Linked DNA regions of Homo sapiens: all the other regions are linked to region 1. Evidence: promoter capture Hi-C in 16 types of primary human blood cells and fetal thymus (Javierre and others, 2016). All regions are on one chromosome and are shown on one strand. The core of a region is centred on a gene start or on the middle of the fragment in contact, and the rest is flanking DNA. Distances in the headings are between cores, read along the strand shown. Region 1 holds the start of FBXW2 (F-box and WD repeat domain containing 2). Region 2 overlaps C5 (complement C5). Region 3 overlaps C5 (complement C5). Region 4 overlaps C5 (complement C5).

Region 1 (3,950 bases), core at 644-3,143:
CTTAGCACAGTGTACAGTCTAGCGGGTAAAAACTCAAATGGTACTTTTTGTTAGTTTTACTACTATGAACACCTGGCAGTAAAGATTTCTGTGACACTAAGGGTGGAATGGACATGACCACTAACATCTCTTTTGACCCTATCATCTTATCACTAAGTTTCTCTTCAAAATACCTGGAAGAAAAACTCAAGGGCTCAAACTTACTAGGGGTTTAATTTTATAAAGAAGAGCACCTGTTTATTGGAGGCTCTAGTTTCCCAGTAGGTGCCTTATTCTACCCACATTCCCTGCTGTTTGGCCCCCTTACCCTACGTCCCTACCCCAGAGTTAACATTCAACTTGCCCTCTTGCCTTCAGTATCAATAATCACAAAGTGGGTCATGCAACAAAAAGACTCCTAAATTGGAAAATGAGAGCCTGGGTTTGGTCTCAGGTTCTGCCATTAACTCCCTATGTTACCTAGGCAACTCACATATTTATATTGGTTTTAAAGAAAAAGTACCACTGGTAAACATTATCTCATTTCATCTTCATAACCTCATGGAAGGTATCAGTAATGCCGCCCTTAACTAACATTAATGAGGAAATTTACGGCTCAAGAAGTGGAGTGGCCTTCCCAGAATGGCACAGGAAGTAGCAGGCTCAATATTTTGCCCAGTACCCATTCTCCCAAAACCTATACTCAGAGGTATTAGAGACAGGACCTTCTGGAAAACAGTGTAAATGTGTTTTCCCCTCCTCCTCTATCAGAACCTGGCCTAGTCAAGAGTGAAAGCAACATAATTGTTAGTGGTAGAGGGAAGGAGGCTTCATTTCCCCCTTTTCTTATCAAACAAAGAGCACAGAGGCGCTGAAAATGTATACACACCTATAAACTTACATATGCATAAAATGTATTCTGAATATTCAAGAAACTGATAACCCTGGTTGCCTCCAGAGAGAACTGGAGAGCTGCAGAATAGGAATGAGGGGTCCCTTTTTATTGTATACCTTTTAAAACTGAAAACCATGTTAAGTATAATATACTATCAAAAAATAGCCTTTAGTTTTAAGGTGAATTTTTTTAAAGCTTTGAAAGAATACAAATAATGTTTATAAAATATGTGTTCTGCAACTCCACTTGTTGCTGGGTGACCTTGGGCAAATCACTTCACCTGTCTCATGCCCTGTTTCCTCACTTGTAAAATACAGCCAAGAGCATTACCTACAAGGGTTTTTATGAGGGTTAAACAAGACAGTGCAAGTAAAGCGTTTAGCACAGTACTCGGCACGCTGTAAGCCTACAGTAAATGTCAGTTACCATTATTACTTAGCATTAATATTGTTATCTTTGCTTTACTTCAAGCAGCACCCCACATACACACCTGTTTTCATGGCATACCCACAATTATGGCGCAGTATAGCGCTTTGTACTTCATAAACCACCTCATCACACTTCATCGTCTTTCAAACGTTTGGTAGCCCTGGGACATCACTGTTAACTCATTTCGCAGCTAAGGAAATGGAGGCAGTAGGAGGCAGTAACTCCAAAACCCTGTTTTCCCGTCTCTAAAATCCAGATCCCATCAACCCATTCGTTGCTCCCAGGTCCCTTGCTCTCGGAATCGTGTTCCGCGCGGCACTGACCTGAGCGAGCGCCCCGGGGCCCGGGACCTCGCGCCGGGTTCACAGCTACTAGGCACGCTCGGACCGCCAGAGCCTTGCAGCGGCCGGGTCCGCTCCGCAGCCATGGCGCCTGCAGGGAAAGAAAAACAGCCAAGGCGCGGCGGGTCAGCAGAGCCGCGGGCGCCTAAGAGTCCCCTCCCCGACCGGCCCCGCCTCGCATACAGACCCGGACCTGCGGCCGCTGCTCCCGGTCCGCAGCCTCACAGGGGAGCGGCTTCCGGTGCTGCCTGCGTCATCTCCGCGCGTCCCTCAGCTCCGCGGCTCCCGGCGGAAGCGGCTGCACTTCCGGTCCCCGCCCGGAGGTGGGTGGTGGGAGGCTGGAGGCCGGGAGTAGGGGTGGGGAGAAGAGCGTCCCGGGAAGCTGAACGCGTGCCGCGCGGCCCTCACGGTGCTTAGGCTGGGTGCAACCTAGAACGGAGGTTCCTTTCGTACCGTACATCCAGGTTTGCACAGCGCGCTTATGTCCCTCCTCCAATCTGATCTTGCACCAGCTCTGCAGTAGTTTTTCTTATTATCCTCATTTTACGGAGGAGAGGGAGCTGTGGCTTAGAGAAGTTAAGAGACGTGTCCAAATTCATACAACCTGTTGGGCACCTCTTTATCCCGAACGCTGTTCTAGGGGATAGGGTTAGTGAACAAAAAACGCAAAAGCCCCTGACCGCCTGGGCCTTACATCTATTAGGAGGAGGAAGACAGATAAACTAAGGCTCGTGCAAAGGAGAAAAATAAAGCAAGGTAAGGAGGTTGTTGAATGAAAAGAGACAGTCAAGTGATGTAGATTTGAATGAATCACAACGTTTACACTCTGGCTGTGGCCCGGTTACTTAACCTCTCAGACTTTGCTTCATCTGCATAGCAATTATAGTGAGGTCCCCATCCGAAGGCTCTGAGGATTGAAGGAAATGAAGCATGCAAACCTTTTGGCGTCAAGAACTAAAACTGAGCTAAAAAATCCCACGCACTCTTTCTCAACATTTTTTGTGTACCATCTCACTCAGTTCCCACAACAACCCCACAAGCTAGTAACTATTATTAGGCCCCTTTTTAGAGATGGGGAAACTGAAATCAAAAGAGGTTTAGGCATCTTGCCTAAGGTCATAGTAAATGGCTGTCATAGGATTTCAACCCAAACCGACTTCAGAGCACAAGTTATCCTTTTTTTTTTTTTGAGGCAACGTATCACTCTGTCGCCCAGGCTGGAGTACAGTGACACGATCTTGGCTCACTGCAGCCTCGACTTCTCCAGGCTCAAGCGATCCTCCCACCTCAGCCTCCTGAGTAGAAGGGACCACAGGCGCGTGTCACCATGCCCAGCTAGTTGTGTGTGTGTGTGTGTGTGTGTGTGTGTGTGTGTGTGTGTATTTTTGTAGAGTCAGGGTTTCGCTATGTTACCCAGGCTGGTCTTGAACTCCTAGGCTCAAGTGATCCACCTGCCTGGGCCTCCCAAAAAGTGCTGGGATTACAGGGGTGAACCACAATGCCCAGCGCACAAGTTATCCTTGTTTCTCTGTAAGGGTTCCTAAGCCATACATGCATACACGCACATTCACATACATCTTATACCAACACTGTCCAATAAGCTTTTTGCCAGTGATGGAGTTGTTCTGTTGGTGCTGTCCAATAAGGCAGTCACTAGTCTCTTGTGGCTACTGAACATTTGAAAAGTACCTGATGTAAATGAACTAAATTCTTAATTTTATTTAATTTTAATTTAATAGCCACATGAGGCTAATGGCTACCATGCTTGATAGCACAGTCCAATAATATAGACAATAAGAGAGACACATATCCAGTAGATGGTAGAGCATGGCCAAGGTTCCAAGCATCCTGACTTCATTTAGGGTACTTGAAACATGGGAAATAAAAATTGATTATGTGGGGTGGAAGTCAACTACGGTGTCCTAAAAGTAAGGTCTCAAGAGAGCAAATTTGATTTGCTAAGCAACAGGATGTCACTCTAGACTTCTAAGTCAGAACGTGACTGATCACAGCATTATAAGACATTTAGGAAGACAGATATACAGATTGGATACTCTCTATGAAAGGGAAGGCAGTACCAGGGTAATCAAGAAAATCAAGCACCCATATCTCTTTGGAGCAAACATTCTCAACCCCAGTACAGTTTGATGAATCAAATTGAAAAGTCCAGATGGAGCTGCCCCAGAGATAATATTGTTTGGACCTCTCATAACAAAGAAACCAAATTGTGCAAATTTAAGCCCAGAGGGGATCCAGGAGCAAAATTCATGACTATAAAAAAATTTTTAAATTGCAAAGTGGACGTA
Region 2 (3,870 bases), core at 526-3,025, 200 kb after region 1:
GAGATAAAGTAGGAGACATGAGGTGGAGCCAGATCATACAGAGCTTTGTAAATCACAATAAAAAGTTTGGTTTTTACTCTGGGTAAGATGGGAAGCTCCTAAATGGTTTTGAGTGGCATGATCTAACATATGTTTTAACAGGGTCACTTCAGTTGCTGTGTTGAGTATATACTGAAGAGGATCAAGGGCTGAACCCAGAAGACTAAGGGAGACTAGTGTAAGAATCCAGGTGGGAGAGGAAGGTGTCTTGGAACAGGATAGTGTGGTGGAGGTGGTGAGAAGTAGTCAAATTAAGGATATATTTTGAATCCATATCTGCTGGATCAGATGTGAACGGTAAGAGAAAGAGAGGAGTGAAGGATGACGAGGCTTTTAGCCTGAGCAACTGGAGGAATGGAGTTTCCATTATGGTTATTATTCTTTAGTTAATTAACCACTATATGAAAATGCAACTCAAAATCTTCTACTTACCAAGTGCTAGCACTTCCACCCTTCCACACACTGTAAGAGTAGTCAGCATTTCTGTAGGACATAATGCTCAACATCCCTAAGAAGCACAAGAAAAAGAACACGGTGCTTAACAGACCTCCGTTTCTACTCAAAGAACACTTTATCAGGCCCTGAGAATGGTAAGCTTCCTTTGGTGTTGGGCAGCAAGCATATGCTCTGTGGCCAGCATTGAACTTCTCAAAGGAAGTATATGAATTGCTCGAATTGGGAATTATCAAGTAGAACATTCTGATCTCATTCGAAAAGGAAGGAAGTGTTCTGTAGTTTGGAATGCAGGTGCCTTGCCTCTCATTCAGGCATTTTGGTAAGTTGAGCCAAAATGCTACAGAAATAATATTTATTTATATAGTAGAGTCCATCTCATGATTTTTTTGCTAAAATTCTCTTACAAAGTTTTCTATAATTCACAACTTAAATATTAGTTTAATAAAAATATTAGTTTAGAATCACCCAATTTTTATGTGAAATACTTTTTTTTTTTACCTTCTTTTAATTTTTTCTTCAGTTTCTGCTTTTCAATTAATGGGTCAGAATGAAAAATGTTCCAATGATTTCCTGTTTCCAGGTAGTGAAAAACATAGAATACTGGGACAACGCTCATCAGCTCCGCCTCTGCACTCCCTTTGGGGAGGTGGGTTAGGATATTGATGCCTTCCTGACTTAGAACTGCAGACAAGATCTCACCTACAAGCAGTCCTGAAACAAAAAAGATCAAAGTAGACACATTGCTTTTTATTAACTTCTAACAGTATGTTCTCAAGAGAGAAGAACAACCATCTAGAGATGGTTCTTCCCTTTTTATCTAGGCAGTTGACTTGCTTCTCAGAAACGGGGTGAGAAAAAAAGATCCGGTTAGGAACATGAATTTGAAAGAAACAAAAAAAAAAAAGACTTTAAAAATCACTAAAATATGGTGGTAGGTAATGTAATACAGTGGACTGATTGCTGCAAGAGAACATGGCAAATTAGTTGCCATTCAACCTGTTAGCTTTAGACATTATAAACCATATTTACCAATCCCTTCCAGGAAGCAAAGCAAAGAGCCTGAACAGGGAGTGCTGACATGACTGTCTATAATTCACTGTGCAACCTTGGACATGCCACTTTCTTTTATATCCAACAGCAGGGTTGCACATGATCAAAAAGATCCTTTCCAGTACTAACATTTTGTGATTCTAGGGTTTTATCTGAGATAAAATGTAGTCAGGACATTCTATCATTCGGTAATATGTTATTGAATTGTAAAGCCTGGAGACTAAGGAAAACCTAGTCACTTGTGCAAATATCACTTCTGCAAATGTATGCGAGGGGAGGAGAATCCCTGCTATGGTTTGAATGTATATGTCTCTCCAAAATTCATACACTGAAGCCTAATCACCAAGGTGATAGTATTAGAAGGTGGGGCTTTTTGAGAGGTGATTAGGTTATGATGGCTCCACCCTAATGAGTGGGATTAATAATCTTATAGACGAGGTAAGAGGAAGTTCTTCACCCCTTTTTGCCCTTTTGCCTTTCCACTTTCTGCCACAGGAGGATACAGCAACATATATCCTCATGGAAACAGAGAGCAGCCCTTGCCAAACACCCAATCTCTTGATGCCTTGATCTTGGACTTCCCAGCCTCCAGAACTGTGAGAAATAAATTTGTATTATTTATAAATTTTGTTATTTTGTTATGGCAGCATAAATGGACTAAGACAACCCTTCTGGGACCAGTACTTCAGCAGAGCAGTGCTGTTCTCGCTAGGCCATGTGCAGGCCATAGGCCTTCTCTGGAGCGGGACTGGCCACTAAGACCATGGAAAGTTCTTTAAGTCTAGAAGCAACTGGACCCCCATTTTAGAGACATCTTTGAGCCAATGACAGTCCCTACCTTCCATTGGAGGAGAATGCATCTCCATGTAAATCAGGCCGTTGGAAGAAGATAGTGGGAAAAGTGATTAAAGGTTTGAAAGTGGGGGTGGGTAGGGGTGGAGCACTCCTAAAGGTAGATTTGTGTGTGCTACTGAACACGGAAGTGGAGAAACAGAATAATCATGAGGATATTTGATTTTTGTTTGAAGCACCAAGTGAAATGAGAAATAAAAATGGCATTTGTTAATTTACCTTTTACACTCAAAATCCTTTTGATTTCTGTTTTGGGGACCAAATCTAAGGGTATCCTGTATGGGAACTCCTTTCGTCTGCTAATGGTACCTGTAATTTAGAAAATTTGGATTTATACAGAGTTTCCAGGGGAAGACTGTTTGCAGATTATTTATAATGTATCTACTTCCAAAGAATATTTCAAAATAAAAGACTTATAATTAGACTATTAAAATTTTAAAAGAAAGTTAAAAATCATCAAGGACTTTAATCAAACCCTAGGCTTGTATAATCTTATTAAATAAAGCATTAAATTTGGCTGTAAGCTTCCTGGTCATTATAAGATGTGAAATAAATAGGTTATATAAATCTTATTCACCAGCAAAATATAGCATGCCAGCTTGCCCAAAGACAGAAAATTGTTCCTGGAACTGAAAGCTAAGAATAACTAACATGTAATTTCTTAATCAACTATATATTGAACATTAGCTCCACAGGGAAGTATGATCTGAAATTCTTTCCACCTTCCCTTCCCAGTCTAGTTTTGATACTTTTTAATCTATGGGCAAAACAACAGAGTTTTAGCATACTGGTATCAGATAATTTTTCTACTGTGATCACTGGTTTATGTCCAAAAAAAGGTAACATTGATCATTCTACTGATAGAGTACCAAGCATGCTACTAAGTTCTTTAAATGAATTATTGCATTGGATTCTCACAACAGTCCTCTATGTTAGGTCTATTTTCATTAGTTTAATTTTATAGATGAGGAAATTGAGGCTTAGAAAGTAACGTGTTCAAGGTCCCAGAAACAATACAAGTGGAGCTGCAATCTGAACTCCAGAAGTTTTGCTGCAGAGCCCACACTAGTCACCACAAAGAGAATCCACCTCCCATTGTCCTGCTAAGAAAGCACTCTGGGGGCAGGAATCATTTCTCATTCCAGCTGTAGTCCTGGCACTTAGCACAGACCCTGGCATATGGAAGATGCTAAAGAAAAATGAGTCACATTTTGCAATTTAATGGACAAGCCACATGGCTTTCCTAAAAATGCAGGAACATTCCTCATAAAACTTCTTTCTTCATTAATCCTTGATAAATGCAGAGGATATATCAAAATAAAATTCAGAAGACATTTAAGAGGTTTGCACTTTGAGTGAAAGAGCATGAAGTTCAAAAAGAGCTTAGTATATATGTGACGCTGGGCAAGATACAACCTTTCTTAGCCTCAATTTGTTCATCAGTTAAATGGAGATAACAACATTTTCCTCAAA
Region 3 (4,393 bases), core at 1,813-4,312, 170 kb after region 1:
AAATGTGTAGATATTGAGGATTTTGAAAAAACCAAAACTAACTGAGACCCTCATGGAGCCAGCTGTTGATTATTGGTGAGTTCTGGATCTTTTCCTTGGCCAAGAAGGCTTTCTTCAATTTAGGAAAGACTAAATGGAACTGGACAATAAACCGAATTCCATTAACTGGGAAGTATAAGAGAAAAGGAACAGAAGCTAGTGGTTCAGTGCTGAGCCTCTTGTCTTATATGATAAAAAGACTAGGTGAAAGTAAAATCTCACATCATGTTGCCCCTATAATATTCAACAACCCTCTCGATGGTGTTTCCCTGCCTCTGTACAGCATGAACTATCAGGTTGTTCAGGAACTGTGAAAATGTAGTTTTACAATGCTCAAGGAATCATTAGCTTTCAATTAGCTGAGATAGCATTTCTACTTCTGAGAAAGAACAGTTTACCAAACAGTGTCCCCCAGATTAACCTCAGGTTATGAACGACTGCTTTAAATAAGCATGCAGCCTAAATATGTTAAATAAAGTTTACCTTCTACACACTTGCACGCGGCTCCTTCACAGACTTTCTGAATTTTGATATTGGAAGTGCTATAAAACATGGTACACTGTTTATCTGTGGCAACAAAAGTGTGGTTAAGAGAAGTGGTTTGATTGAAGAACAACACATTTACTAATTGGCAAGTGTCTTACATGGAGCCTCAGAGATTGCTTATTTTAAACCCTTCTTTTTATAGCTAAGGCCCAGGGAGGTAAAATTATGAATTGGCTGTCCTGGGAAGGGTTCCGCTACCCTCAGAAAGATCTCCCCTTTTTCACTTAGTTCTGTGCTTGAAACACTCGTTTCTCAGAAATAAAACATTTGATGCTTCTCTAAGTAAGAGGAAAATAAATTATGTTGCATGAGGATCTTTTGAAAGAGTTGGAATTGTTTAGGGTGGACAAGGGAAGAAAAGCATATATCTATGTATCTCTATATATCTATCTCAAGGGGAAGAGGGACTATGTATGTTCTATGTGATTTCAGAATATAAAACTAGAATGAATGGGTGTCAGAGTTTTGGTTCACTTCAAGAATTTTCTAACAAGTAGAACTGCCCAAGGTGGAGTCATCTGTCTTGTGATCCAATAAGCTCTCCAACCACATAACATTCTCAAAAATGGCTGAATAGTCAAATGTGGGATCACCCATTCATAAATATTTATTGAGTTCACATTCTATACCCGACGCTGCGTTAGATACTAGGGACACAAGAATGAAAACACCCTGGGGTTGATGAAAAAGACATACAAATAATTGAATGCAATGTGACAGCTGCTATAATAGAGCTATCTGCAAAGTGTAACAAGAATATAGATGGGCTAGAAGTTGTTCTGGGGGGATTGAGTTGATTTCTCTCAAAAGGAGAGATATGATTTATCTGTGAACACCATAGATAAACCTGAGGCAAAGAATATTGAAGTTGGAGGCACTATAATCCAGTTATTTTAAATATGAAGAAACTGAGGACTGAGGTGAAACGGTCTGCTCAATGTCAAGAAGTAGTTTATGTACAATATTTTGTATGCAGTAGTTTTGAATGTTCAAATTGGGACTTTCATGAAGAGTGGTCCCTAAGAGAGGCAATACATAAAATTTACAGGACTCTAGTGGATTTCTAAATGTTCTGGAAAGAATACAAAGTATTCTTCTGAAGAAATGTTAGCATGGAGTTGATTACCTGGTCTGTGGTATTCGTACACTGTGAAAGTGGCAGGACTGAGAAACCCAACTTCAAAGAGTTCAAATATCCGGAATCGTACACAAAGGAAATCACTGGAGGGAATCTGTTTAACAAATTCAAGGATTTAAGGAAATTATGGAGAGATGATATTTATAATCTTTTAGCCTGTATATTTTGAATAGTAATAGTAAAGGAAAAATGGTTGCAGGTGGAGCTTACCGAATTCAGTTGCAGAATAACATGTCCATCTTTGATTTGGTAATCAGTGAATAGTTGATCCACCCCTTCCACAAGCTAAGGGGGAAAAGAGAGAAGCTTGAATTTCATTTCATTATCTTTTTGTTTAAATGCATTCACCTGTTGATGAGATAGCACAATGCAGGGATGTGATCTGTAATTCAAAGAAATTGAAGAGCAGTTCCTCTTCTTGAAAAAGTCTGAACACATTAGCATATAAACTCATATTTTACAGAGCATGCTAGTGTATGCTTCTGCTTCACTTTGATAAATCAAAACTTAGGTTAATTATGTTTTGAAAAGAATATTCTGGCCAGGCCTGGTGGCTCACGCCTGTAATCCCAGCAGTTTGGGAGGCCAAAGCCAGTGGATCACCCTGATGTCAGGAGTTCGAGACCAGCCTGACTGACATGGAGAAACCTCGTCTCTACTAAACATACAAAAAAATTAGCCAGGTGTGGTGGTGCATGCCTGTAATCCCAGCTACTCGGGAGGCTGAGGCAGGAGAATCACTTGAACCCGAGAGGTGCGGTTGCAATGAGCCAAGACTGCATCACACTCCAGCCTGGGCAACAAGAGTGAAAATCCACCTCCAAAAAAAAAAAAATATTCTGGGTGATTCTATAAAAGTGGTATATTCAAATGAAAGAAAGTAAAATTGTCTATAAAATAATTCAGAAAAGAAAATGAAGCATTCACAACACGATTTAAAAGAAAACACATACGGCTTTTAAGTCTTCTTCATTTGCACTGATTCCAGTAGGCAAGGAGATGTCCATCACCGCATGAGAGGATCCAGATGATGATTCTTCCCTGCTGGGCTTGTAGCTAAAATAAAAAAGAGGTTAGAAAATATAATAAATAAGTGAATAAGAGTCTTTAAGAAAGGACACTCTTCCTTAGTAGACCTTAATTTTTAAATTTGGGTCTCCATTTATTTGCTTTTCTACAATGTATGGGTTAAAATCTCTGACTTTAGAGTTGCAAGAGATCTTTGAGTCATCTATTCTCTTTCCTCACTTGATCAATAATCTCAACAGACCACTCTACTGGAACACAGAAGTCATCCACACCAAGCTAACTAGCTGGGGAAACTCAGGATGAGAGTAAGGCACTGGTTCAAGGTCACATGGCTAATTCATGCAGAGCTACAGAAGAATCCAGGTCTTTGGATTCTCACGTTAGTTCATTTTCTAATGAAGCATATTCCAAGGAAAAAATCAGTTGTATGTTGAAAAGAGATTCAATAAACATGTCCAGGAAAAGCTGGAAGAAAATACACTAAGGCAAGGCACGGTGGCTTACGCCTATAATCCCAGCACTTTGGGAGGCCAAGGCAGGCAGATCACTTGAGGTCAGGAGTTCAAGACCAGCCTGGCTAACACGGTGAAACTCCGTCTTTACTAAAAATACAAAAAAAATTAGCCGGGCTTGGTGGGACACACCTGTAATCCTAACTACAGGAGAATTGCTTGAACCTGGGAGGCGGAGGTTGCAGTGCGCCGAGATCGCAGCACTGCACTTCAGCCTGGACGACAGAGTGAGAATCCCTCTTTAAAAGCAAACAAACAAACAAACAAACCCACAAATATTAGTAGCTACTTTGGATGGTGAGATTATAAGCAATTATCTCTTTTCTTTTTCATGCTTTTCTCTATTTTCTATATTTCCCATAATAGCTACTTTATATAGAAAATGTTTCAAGGACTGTCCTTTCAGTAGGAATTCTGCTAGTAGGAATTTAAGCGGAAATGCAAAAAGGGCACAATGGGAGGGTTTTGTTTTTGTTTTTGTTTTGTAAGAGAGAAAAGAATACTGAAATGGAGAATCAGGAAACTTGGGTTTTATTCCAGTTCTGAGATTCCCACAAATCATTTCCCCTTTCTAAGCTCATTTTCTTATTTGTAAAATTAACTGTGAAGAAGTATAAGTTTGTGTTTTAAATTTATCTTTATAATTCCCAGGCTTTGGTTTTGGGTGGCAGAGGCTTAGAGCTACCATTAAGAGATGTTAGAAGACATAAAAGAGACAGGCTGGCGGGGCTGAGGCTGGGGCAGAGACAGACGGAGTGTGATTCTGTAAAAGTTGATTTCAGGTTCCAGCCTCACCTCAAGATGCTTGAAAGGCAGCTGGATGTTTGAGAGTGAAGCTTGGGAGAGCAGTCAGGATTAAAGGAAGAAATTAAAAGACAGCTTCATAAGGGGTAAAATGAATTGATCTCACCTACAGGTATGAATGTTGGTGGAAGAGGAGATACTAAGCAAGTTAGTGAGGGGTCAGGGCATATCTTTTCCTCAATGACACCTCATAGAGCATATATAATGCAGTCCCAGCTGGGTGCGGTGGCTCACACCTGTCATCCCAGCACTTTGAGAGGCTGAGTCAGATCAGCTGAAGCCAGGAGTTCGAGACCAGCCTGGCCAACATGGTGAAACCACTTCT
Region 4 (4,486 bases), core at 1,364-3,863, 230 kb after region 1:
AAAAGAGAGGTTAGAAGCCTCCATTTCCTGAGCCACACAATGGCAAAGATAATATTCTAACTCATCTTGCTAATTAAATGGTGTTTCATGTATTCTTCATAAAGCTCTCAGCATGATGCCTAGCATTTAGTAAGTGCTCAATAGATGACAGTGAGCATATGCATGCTGCAGTCATTGGCCTATGTTATTATGTTACTAAGTTACTTTGTAACTATGTTACTATGTTATTGCTCATATTTTATTTGAGATTGGGAACTTAAATAATATTTGCTGCGAGAGAAGACTATTAAGTGGGCTCTAAAGTAGAATGGTTTCTGTAGTTAGAAAAAAGGGAGGCTTCCATATTTTTGACCCTTTTGTGGCCCTTCAGGGGATTAAAAGTGAGGGGGGAAGAGAGGATATTCCTAACACTCATGTGCACTGCTATACCTATTCTGAAGCTTCTAGAGTCTGATATGGTCTTAACGGTGTAAGATAAAACAATTAACTCCCAAATAAAAAATTGATACATTTATCTTCCTCAAGGACCATTCAATGGATTAGCAGATTGTCTCTGGGACTAATTTGTCTTGGATGCAAAATTATGGAACTGTTCACTGGACTCATGTGTAAAATCTGCCGCATCTGTTCTGCACACTAGCCAAAACACATGGTCAAGAGTACACATTGTCCTAGAAAATACAACAGGAGAATTCAGCTCACATTAAACTCCAGCACCGTCACTCCAGATGGGAGATTAAGCACAAAGGAAGCTACTCCATCATCAACACGTGTTACACTTTTGCTTGGATCCAAGTCAGATGTCTCTTGGTTTACATCAATTGTTTGTGCATTCAGTGTTACTGGGACTCCTCCTACCAACTGGTCAAGCGAATCTTTAACCTGCACCTGTTTGTCAAAACAATCCAAATCTATTTCAACAGCTCATCACTTATTTTAAAGCACAATTCTGAAATAATTTTCCTTCCTCCCCACCAAAGTATAAATTATTTATGTATTTTTTTCTGAAAATTTTTTTTCTGAGACAGAGACTTACTACGTTGCCCAGGTTGGAGTGCAGTGGCTATTCACAGGCACAATCATAGCGCACTGCAACCTTGAACTATTGGCCTCAAGCCATCCTCCCACCTCAGCCTCCCAAGTAGCTGGAACTATTTAGGCATGCTCCACCACACCTGGTTTACTTATGTTTAATTTAGTAAAGAGAAGTGTATTCTCAGCTTATAGAAAGATTTAATTCTATTTAGTTAAATCATTCTTGAATAGATTCTCCCATAAATCAAGCAAACTCAAAACATAAATATCATTCTATTAAGTCAGTCAAGGAGTAGGTGTGATAAGGTCTTCTGCTATCTAACTTCTGTATTTCTTTGATTGGTTTAGGACTGGATAAAGGAGAAAATGAGGCAATCGCTTCTGGGAATAAGTCCCTTGAATATGAGAAACAAAAATAGATACACCTTTTTTCCTTTAACATCTACCTCTCACTGCCATATATATATATATATACACACACAATTCCACACAGATATAGTTTGTTATTTTACTTTTATATAAACATATTTTAAGCTTATGTTCTATATAATATTGCTATATTTACATATTTTAGTATATATATTATATATTACTGTATATGCATTATATGATACTTTGTTATATATTATTTTCTATATATAGTATATATATGTAAGAACCTACAAGCATGTCCAAACCTTGCTTTGGGCTTGGTAAATCCTTTTTTTTCTTAAAAGCCCATGACCCACAGTAAATAATAAATAACACATTTTGATTGTACTTAAGTTGATTTTAAAAAGTAACACATTTTCAAAGAACAAAAAAAAATTTTGCTCTGGATTTCTAAATTAAGGGCAGGGAATAAACATTTCCATTTAATCAACATAATAAAATATATTATTTGTAATAAAATATATAATGATAGATAAAAATCTAAAAACCACATGAATGTTTCAATTCTATACTGTCAGCATTTAGAGGAGGAAAAGAAGGTGAAAGAGAGAAAAATGAATGCAGAGGAGTAAGCAAAAAAGACAGAAAAAAAGAGATTCAGGGACGGAAAGAAGCAAAAATGAAAAGAACAGAGAGCAATACAGAGACGAGAGATTGAACAGAGTTATGCACAAAGACAACACAGAGACAGAGGGAAACAAATGAGACACACTGGAGGCAAAAACATAGTGAGAGAAAGGAGTCTATTTTCAAGGAATGATATCTCCATCTTAAGGCTTTTTAAGAATTTGCCACCAAATAATTTTAAATGTTTGTATTTTTGAACTAGAGTCTTATGAGATTTTATTTACATATAATTTAATGCTTATTTATTACATGTAATTTAATGCTTATTTAGGGATGCCTAATACAAGGCTATCTTGCCCTCACTTTTGAAGTCATTGCCAAGGCTGCAGCTGACCTTCAATTTCCCATCCCTGTCTGTGTCCACCAGGAGGGGCAGGTTTCACAGAATAAGCTCCCTCTGTGACTTCATGGCAACATTCTTACCCTGTTTGCCACCCACATGTTTTCCATGAACAGAACAAGATGATCATATGTAGCAACGTCTACCCCCTCACCCAATCTACCTTGATGGGATATGGAATCCCAGGCTTCAGGAAAAGAGGAGTAGCAACCAAATTCAGTTTGTAGGGAGAGAGGACATATTTGATGCCAGGTATTTCTGCCTCTTCAGAAAATCCACCTAAGGAAATGGCAAGCATCATGTTGACAGTTTTTAGGAGTATCATGATCTGTATGGATATCCATTTCATCTCTATATGTCTCCACAGACTTATTCATTCACTCACTCCATTCTTGCATTCATTCATTTACCAGTAGTAAGTAGGACATAGGTCTTGCTTCAGAGGGGCACAGCAGAGAAGAGTTTAGACCTCAGGAGTTTCCAAGGCCTTATGCACAAGCTCGTATGTAGAGAAGCCCTTGGAGAAGTAGAGCTACAGGACTGGACTGAGGAAGGATGCCAGGAAGGGACACCACTTTTCATCAGTGGCCTGAGTTTCAGTTGACTGTATTCAAGGGATTGAGGAGAGAGGGAAGGGTCAGGCCAGAAACTGAGCCTTACAGAAGTGGAGGTGGGGGATGGGGGTTGGTGTTCACAGAGCATAGATACATAGAGAGAAATCAGAAAAAGGGAGCTTGATATAGAAAGAACCCTGAAAGGGAGTTCGAGACCAGCCGGGCCAACATGGTGAAACCTCATCCCTACTAAAACTAAAAAACGAAAACAAAAAAAGTGCCAGGCATGGTGGTATATGCCTGTAATCTCAGCTACTCGGGAGGCTGAGGCAGGAGAATTGCTTGAACCCAGGAGGCGGAGGTTGCATTGAGCTGAGACTGTACCACTGCACTCCAGTCTGGGCAACAGAGCAAGACTCGGGAGGGGAGGGAGGGAGGGGAGGGGAGGGGGGAGGGGGAGGGGGGAGTGGGAGGGGGGAGGGGGAGGGGAGGGGGAGGGGAGGGGAGCGGGAGGGGGGAGGGGGAGGGGAGGGGGAGGGGAGGGGGAGGGGAGGGAGGGGAGCGGGAGGGGGGAGGGGGAGGGAAGGGGACATGACCAGACAACTGGCAAGAGCCCAATAATGTTATCCTCCAGGTAAAGATTAAGTTAAACTATTAAGAATAACATTTGAAGCTTTAATATTCCCAAACTCCTTTCCAATATTACATCTCTAATACATTCTATACATATCCTATATTTTAGCCAAACTGGATGATCTGCTGTCCTCAAAGATTAAGCTTCACCATCTACTCTTCTTCATCTGCCCTCTCTCTGGAGGGTTTCTATTTCACCCTGTCTAGCAACTCTGCCTCAAAACCCTAATTATTTTTCAAGACTGATCATCTTCACAACACTGTTCTTGCTTGCTCAACAATCATCTAGAAGCTCACCTTCCTCTGAATCCTATTGCATTAATATTTTGCTTAGAGCTCATATGGAATTCTTTCTTGCAACAGTTCTTTCTTCACCTGTCTTATACCTGATGCTAATTTGTAAGCCACTTTAGTGCTGGCATCATACATCATTAATGTTTGCAAGCCTGTCTGTTTGGCAATACTTTAAATATCTCATAGATACTGCTTAAACTGAACTTATTTAAAATAAGTTGAGGAAAAAATAAAAAGAAGAAACATTAAAATAATGTTGAAAACTTTAGGCTTTAGGAAACATTCAGTTTGACTCCATCATTATGTAGACTATAATAATGATAATAGTAATAACTTTTATTTGTATAGTACTTTATCAAATAGTTTTACACACATAATCTTATTTTGGTTTTGATTTTCACCACGTGAGGACACTAGGGTGCCAAATGGTCAAGGCAGAGAGCCTGCAGAACTACTTTGGACATGAATTGGGTACTGTTTTCCCATTTTTGCAGTAGAAGTGGAGGTAATAGGGACCCAATGGCTTGTCCAATGACTAAAAAGAAGCAGAGCCCTACTGCCTTTTTATAAC

What was found. The method cuts DNA at HindIII sites, captures the fragments that hold promoters and counts their contacts. A CHiCAGO score of 5 or more calls a contact.
Region 2: a fragment that was not itself captured here is called in contact with the fragment with the promoter of FBXW2 in region 1 in 7 of 17 cell types (non-activated CD4 T cells, activated CD4 T cells, naive CD4 T cells and 4 more); the score reaches 10.6 in non-activated CD4 T cells.
Region 3: a fragment that was not itself captured here is called in contact with the fragment with the promoter of FBXW2 in region 1 in 3 of 17 cell types (total CD4 T cells, naive CD4 T cells and non-activated CD4 T cells); the score reaches 6.7 in total CD4 T cells.
Region 4: a contact is called between a fragment that was not itself captured here and the fragment with the promoter of FBXW2 in region 1, in 1 of 17 cell types (activated CD4 T cells). The highest score is 5.4, in activated CD4 T cells.

The regions. Positions count from the first base shown.
Region 1 is chr9:120,791,523-120,795,472 of GRCh38, forward strand. FBXW2 (F-box and WD repeat domain containing 2) reads right to left here and starts at 1,894. Exons shown (of 8, transcript NM_012164.4): 1 at 1,832-1,894; 2 at 1,627-1,735. It overlaps B3GALT9 (beta-1,3-galactosyltransferase 9), which reads left to right and starts at 1,945. Exons shown (of 3, transcript NM_001386823.1): 1 at 1,945-2,400. RefSeq lists enhancers at 1,595-2,225, 2,288-2,387, 2,818-2,907. The HindIII fragment of the contact is 2,176 bases long and covers 1,068-3,243 here.
Region 2 is chr9:120,988,575-120,992,444 of GRCh38, forward strand. It overlaps C5 (complement C5), which reads right to left. Exons shown (of 41, transcript NM_001735.3): 23 at 2,617-2,706; 24 at 994-1,206; 25 at 472-547. Among named protein-coding and RNA genes, the nearest start is that of C5-OT1, 38 kb to the left of the region's middle. The HindIII fragment of the contact is 2,287 bases long and covers 633-2,919 here.
Region 3 is chr9:120,960,960-120,965,352 of GRCh38, forward strand. It overlaps C5 (complement C5), which reads right to left. Exons shown (of 41, transcript NM_001735.3): 34 at 2,677-2,779; 35 at 1,934-2,008; 36 at 1,712-1,817; 37 at 523-606. Among named protein-coding and RNA genes, the nearest start is that of C5-OT1, 10 kb to the left of the region's middle. RefSeq lists a silencer at 2,332-2,515. The HindIII fragment of the contact is 2,071 bases long and covers 2,028-4,098 here.
Region 4 is chr9:121,020,807-121,025,292 of GRCh38, forward strand. C5 (complement C5) reads right to left here. Exons shown (of 41, transcript NM_001735.3): 10 at 2,598-2,713; 11 at 703-888. Among named protein-coding and RNA genes, the nearest start is that of C5, 27 kb to the right of the region's middle. The HindIII fragment of the contact is 2,092 bases long and covers 1,568-3,659 here.